2 separate regions of the Homo sapiens genome follow, and region 2 is linked to region 1. Evidence: promoter capture Hi-C in 16 types of primary human blood cells and fetal thymus (Javierre and others, 2016). All regions are on one chromosome and are shown on one strand. The core of a region is centred on a gene start or on the middle of the fragment in contact, and the rest is flanking DNA. Distances in the headings are between cores, read along the strand shown. Region 1 holds the start of MGARP (mitochondria localized glutamic acid rich protein). Region 2 overlaps SETD7 (SET domain containing 7, histone lysine methyltransferase).

The links. The method cuts DNA at HindIII sites, captures the fragments that hold promoters and counts their contacts. A CHiCAGO score of 5 or more calls a contact.
Region 2: a contact is called between a fragment that was not itself captured here and the fragment with the promoter of MGARP in region 1, in 2 of 17 cell types (activated CD4 T cells and total CD8 T cells). The highest score is 6.2, in activated CD4 T cells.

What each region holds. Positions count from the first base shown.
Region 1 is chr4:139,278,546-139,281,666 of GRCh38, reverse strand. MGARP (mitochondria localized glutamic acid rich protein) reads left to right here and starts at 1,442. Exons shown (of 4, transcript NM_032623.4): 1 at 1,442-1,590. The coding sequence starts at 1,509. RefSeq lists an enhancer at 1,478-1,687. The HindIII fragment of the contact is 26,288 bases long and covers 1-3,121 here.
Region 2 is chr4:139,546,022-139,549,142 of GRCh38, reverse strand. It overlaps SETD7 (SET domain containing 7, histone lysine methyltransferase), which reads left to right. Exons shown (of 8, transcript NM_030648.4): 2 at 2,094-2,223. It also overlaps the pseudogene FTH1P24. Among named protein-coding and RNA genes, the nearest start is that of SETD7, 8.6 kb to the left of the region's middle. RefSeq lists a silencer at 692-878. The HindIII fragment of the contact is 401 bases long and covers 1,424-1,824 here.

The DNA.
Region 1 (3,121 bases), core at 193-2,692:
ACTCTCTTTCTGAGTATCAAAAAACCAATCTGATCATTGGCTTGTACTCTTCTTATGAGAATATGTTAAATATAATTATAATTAGGTTCAGGACTATAACTTCTGAGAAACGTCTATTTACATAGCAAATGAACAAATATTGTGCCTGTTACATGCCAATAGAACTTTAAGCTAGAAGTATTATGTTCATGTCCTTTTTGTTTTTTAATTCATGACCACCAGTAAATCCCTGGACATTCCCACCCACCACCTGGTGGTGGCATTTGCTAAAGGGAATAATTGCCACCTCCCTCAGAGGGTTGCAGTGAAAATTAAAAGAGATAATAGATGTGAAAGTGCTTTATAATCTTTCAAGTGCCAAACACACATAAGGGATTATTATAGTAGGAAATGGTGTCTTCCAAAGAGTAATCATTTAGACAATGTTATAAACGTAATAAATTATTGGTTTCCATATTCAAACCATGACAAGTTCTTGTAGCCACGATGAGACGGAAAACTAATAATTTAGTATTTTTAGTTGATGTGTTTTTTTGTTTTGTTTGTTTTGTTTTGTTTTTGGGGTTTTTGTTTTGTTTTGTTTTGCTTTTGAGACAGGGTCTTGCTCTGTCACCCAGGCTTGAATGTAGTGGCATGATCTCGGCTCACTGCGACCTCCGCCTCCCGGGTTCAAGCGATTCTCCTGCCTTAGCGTCCCGAGTAGCTGGGATTACAGGCCCGCGCCACCACTCCCGGCTAATTTTTTGTATTTTTAGTAGAAACGGGGTTTCACCATGTTGCCCAGGCTGCTCTCCAACTCCTGACCTCAAGTGATCCGCCTGCCTCGGCCTCCCAAAGTGCTGGGATTATAAACGTGAGCCACTGTGCCCGGCCGCTGATGTGGAAATATTAATTTCACATCCCATAGAGGAATATACAGTGTTTTTGATATTTTAAAGTCGTTTTAACAGTGAGCTGTCTAGAAATTCAACCATTGTCTGCAGATTTTCTTACGATTCTGAGCATCACCCAGTGCGCTAATGGAAGGCTGAGGCTACCCCTTCGCTCTTCTCATTTTTAAGAAACTTCCAGCTATCCTTCCCTCTCCTAGGAAAGCTAACGGAATGCAGGAGATAAAATGGTTTCAGATTACATCCAGCGTGATAAACTGTGTCCTTGTCTTAATCTCGTCCAATTCCCAAAACATTTCCAGCTTGCTGTGAGGAGTTACATTCAGTGGTACAGAATGAGCCAGGCAGGCGACGGCGACTTGTAGGTTCCCCATCCCTTTTCTGAGATGCCGCGGTCAGCTCTAGAGACCTCAGGGATAGCAACAGAGCTGGAGATGGGTTAGGGGAGGATGGTGAGGACTACAAAGGTCTCCCCACCTCCCGGGGGCCGCGGAGGCGGGGCTGGATGAAGGTCGACGTGCCTCCTCCGGGCGGGGCGCTGCCAGGCTCTCAGCCTCTCTGTGGAAGGGCAGCCTGCGCCTGGGTACCGAGGCTGCTGCGCGGCGGACAGCGGGCGCGATGTATCTCCGCAGGGCGGTCTCCAAGACTCTGGCGCTGCCGCTGAGGGCGCCCCCCAACCCCGCGCCGCTCGGAAAGGACGGTGAGTAAGGAGGTCTAGCCCGGAGAGGAGGACGGGCGCCTCGGGTGCAGATTTCGCCCGCGCCAGGGAACCGGCCGGCACCCAGTTGGCCAAACCCGACCCAGAGCAGCAGAAGCCTGGATTGGAGGTCGAGGAGACTGGGGGAGACTCCCGGGAAGACGTCCCGAAGCTCCTGCAGACTTTGGAAGTAGGGAACTTTTCCAGGGTGCCTCAGAGTCCAGATTATCTGGGTTCGCATCCTGATCTTGGACAAATGGCTTAACCTGTTTCCTCATCTATAAAATGAGGGCGATGATGGTTTTCCTTTTTAATGAGTTAATGTATGGTTAAAAGCACTTAAAAACGTGCCTGGCTGACAAAGTCGCAGCTTACCACTTTTATTGTTAGAGGCACCATTCGCTCTCCAATCTCCTGAGGAAGCAGAGGAACGGTGGGAAGGTGGACGCCGATCAGCGAGCGGGCCCGGCAAGCGCTGGGAGGCAGTGAGGCAGGGCCCGCTCAGTGGACGCTGGGCGAATGTTCGTGGGGTAAATAAACCTAACCCTTGGCAGGGTCTCAGCAGCCTGAACCCCGCGAGCGCCTGGCTCTGAGATCCACAACCCCCAAAAAGGAAGCGGCCTTCGGGACACTTTCCTTTGAGGTTGCACGTCGTCCTGCAACTGCTTGGCTCTGTAGTCCAAATATCGACACCTTTGGTTCTGAGGATACGCGAGAAAAAGCAGAATACTCAGCAATTAACTAAAGGGGGAGTTGCAGTGTGAACTGGAGGCTTATTAAATAAAAACGGACATATAGGAAAGCGCTTCGTATAGTGCTGGGAACATAGTAGGTGCTTAATAGGTGTGAGCAAGGAAGATTGTTTTTCTTCTGGGACCAGGCTTGCGCTCCAGGGCGGTTCTGCCCCAGCCGCTTTTCCCTAGTCCCCATCCGTCACCCCTCTCTCTTCCACTCACGACTGGGGGACGGCTCTTAGACAATATCGTGAAGGGTTCTTAATGCTCTCTTCACTTAGCCTCACTTTCTGAGCCTTCCGAGATAATTTTACCCCAGAGGGTGGATTCCAGCAGGAGAGAAAGATGTGCGCGGAGAATTCCATGGGCCGATTTTTTTTTCACGTTGATTAGGCCTCTGTTGGTGGTGGTGGGAGGGAAGGACGGAGGTCTAACTAACTCGCTTTATTTTTCTTGTAAAATGCTGGTGGAAGGAAGTTATCCCTCAAGTATCAGAAATAAGACATCTTCGTTTTCCTAGATCTTTATTGCCTTTATTTTTCTAGATCTTTATACCAAATGATATAGAGCTTTTAAATATATATATACACTGATGAAGTAGGGAGAAGCCATTTATTTTAAACTTCGGAAGATAACGGGACTGTTCTGTTGAGAACGGGGAGAAAGATTAGTCCTCTGACCGTGGCCTTTCGTTTTATCTGTCTGCGTTCCCCACCGACATCATGCGCGCGTGCACGCACACACAAACACACACACACACACGCGCACCTTTTTTTTGTAGCTGCAGAAATTCCAAATAA
Region 2 (3,121 bases), core at 375-2,874, 270 kb before region 1:
GGATATTAATACCTAAATCAAAAGTAGGACACTGAATTTATATGCCTAAATTTAACTTGATCGCAACAACATTTCACTAAAAAAAGCTCTTAGCAATACACTGAGTGGCTTTTTTTAATGAAAAGAAAAAAGCAAATTTAATTTATTTCAATGAGAGAAATGGCATCAGATATTTAGAAAATAATTGTCCAAGTGATTTCATATGACTCAAATGTCATTGAATTTATGTCATGTACAATTAGTTTTTGAGCGAGAAGAAAGCAATTATGGCCTAGTTCCCTTCTGACCATTAATTTCCTGGGCCTTTCCTCTTTTGTGTTAAGAGGAAGGGATCCATATTGATTATGATTTATTTAAGTAGATGTGTCTTATTGTAAGATGTTCTAGGTAACCCATTGTATACAGAGTCAGATGTAGCAATAAAACACTGTAGTTGTTTGCAGCTATTTTATGTTTATGTAATTAATGATACAAATAAAGAGCATATTTATTCTTTTTATTGTTGTTGTTGAGATGGAGTTTCATTCTTGTTGCCCACGCTGGAGTGCAGTGGCACAATTTTGGCTCACTGCAACCTCTGCTTCCTGGGTTCAAGCGATTCTCCTGCCTCAGCCTCCTGAGTAGCTGGGATTACAGACGTCCGCCACCATGCCTGGCTAATTTTTTGTATTTTTAGTAAAGACGGGGTTTCACTGTGTTGGCCAGGCTGGTCTCAAACTCTGGACCTAGGGTGATCCACCCACCTCAGCCTCCCAAAGTGCTGGGATTATAGGCGTGAGCCACCATGCCCGGCCGCATATTTATTCTTTATAAGAGTGTGTACTTACCATCTTTTCCAAGGGCTAATATTCTTTTATCATGTTAGAATAAATTATTTGAGGAGACTAAAGCTTTCACTGTGGTAGTATGGTTTGTGTTGCCTTTTATGTCTGTGAGCCATCTGGAAGCTACATTTCAATGTTTAATGTCCCTGCATTAGACACAGTGTTTAATGTTTTCATACCTTTTCTCTCCATGACCCAGGTTATTACCCCAAGAAAAAGCCAGTAGAATAACTACTGCCTTCATTTTCACCCACCTCTGCAAAATCAGCTCACCAGAATGATTGGGAAGACACCAATAAGGTGATTCCTGGGTTTTGTAAAACATGTAGATAGTAATAAAAAGCATAAACATTGACTGTAAATGTCAGTATTAAACTATACCAATCTTTGACCTAGGAATAACCAGTGACTTAAAAGTCCATGTAATAACTTCTGCTGATGTTCACAATCATTGCTTAAATGACCATGTGCATACTCTGGCTCCATTTAAAACACAAGCCCTCTGAGACACAGTGGTGGACGGTATAGGATAAGGTTATTACTAAACATTCAAAGCTGAAAGATTTTGTAAAGTAAACCAGTAGGTTTAAGGTTAAGCTTAAGTTTAAGGTGAGAAGGACTCTGGGTTTCTGTGTTTGTACAATGAGCTATATAAATCTTAGGGCAGTTTTAAAGATATGACACTGTTCCTTGTGTGAATATAACAATAACAGTGAGATTTTCAGACTGGCTAGCAGTCCTCCACATCATATTATAGAATGATGTATAAAATCATATTGCATACTTAATGTTCTAGAATTAGATAATTTATTCCAAAGACTGTGTATGTGGCAATTGACTATAAAACAGTGGAATCTCAACCACACTTCAGTTAAGCATGAGAGATTGGAGGCATCAATTCCAAATATGAGGACTCTCGGGAGAGTACTTGGTAAATTGTGACATGCCCTGCAGATAATATTACTGATAATGACTCTCAGTTCCAGGTAAAAAGCAAGCTTATTTAAAGTTCATATTCTGGAATGTGTCTAAGTCTGTTCTGGACCTATCAGTTCACAAAGTGTACATAACAATCAATTTGGTACTGCTGGTGCCGATGAGGTGAGAAACTTTTGCACGCTGACTACCCTTTCTTTCCAGGGAGGGGACCCTTTGGCAGCTGGAGGGGAGTTGGGTGGGGGACTTGTCTGGCAGCATCTGAATGCTTAGACGTCAGATGGGAGGAGCACTGAAGATGTTAAGGTTTGCCTTGTGGTTCCCTTTCTCCAGGGCACCTGGACGATGACGGATTACCGCACGGGTTCTGCACAGTCACCTACTCCTCCACAGACAGATTTGAGGGGAACTTTGTTCACGGAGAAAAGAACGGACGGGGGAAGTTCTTCTTCTTTGATGGCAGGTAGCACTCACAGTTTTATTTTGTTCTTTGGGGGTACCGAATTATTTTATGTTAAGGACTAATACAAACGAAAGAATTCAAGTGGAAGTTTTTCTACAATTTATTCAATGGGTAAAATTAACCCCTACCTGTAGGCACTGCTTTGGTGACTGGGGAAGTCACCCTGTGGTTATGGGACAGCCAGCCTAAGGCTTAGCTCTTGTCATCACTGTCTCCCAGAGTGTGCTTGGCCAAAAGATACCAGATTTGGGGGCCCCCATCTTGCATAAGTTGGTTACATGGTCACCCAATTCTTTGATGGATTTCACTTGATCATTCCGGTAGCGCATCTCCCTGAAGTCACACAAGTGGGGATCGTTTTTGTCAGTGGCCAGTTTGCACAGTTCCAGTAAAGTCAGATTCACACTTTTTTCCAAGGGTCACACACACTCTATTGCGTTCAGCACACTCTCCCAGATGTCACAATCTGGCATCTTAGTACCCCGAAGCAAGATTCTGCCACCTTGTTGGTTCTTCTGCTTCATCGGTTTCTCAGCTTGTTGCCTCTCCTCATGAGATTGATGAAAAAATGCTTGGCAAAGTTCTTCAAAGCCACATCATTGCAGTCCCAGTAATAAGACATAAACAGGTACACACAGGAGGGCAACTCTCTAGACTTCAATTTTTTAAATGCCTGTCTTTGGGATAGTTGGTCTTTTTGTGTGATAATTTAATACTAATGTCAGAACTATGATTTTCCACAGTGTACCTCTAGTTACAGTATTTTTCACAACAGGATTTCTTTTATTTTACTCTCATCCCCTGTCTGAGGACACTGAGAGGGAGAGGCTCCTTACTCGCTTGTGATAGATAGGAATGACTATAGGACGTTTTTCTTTCAAGAAGAGATGGGGTTGCC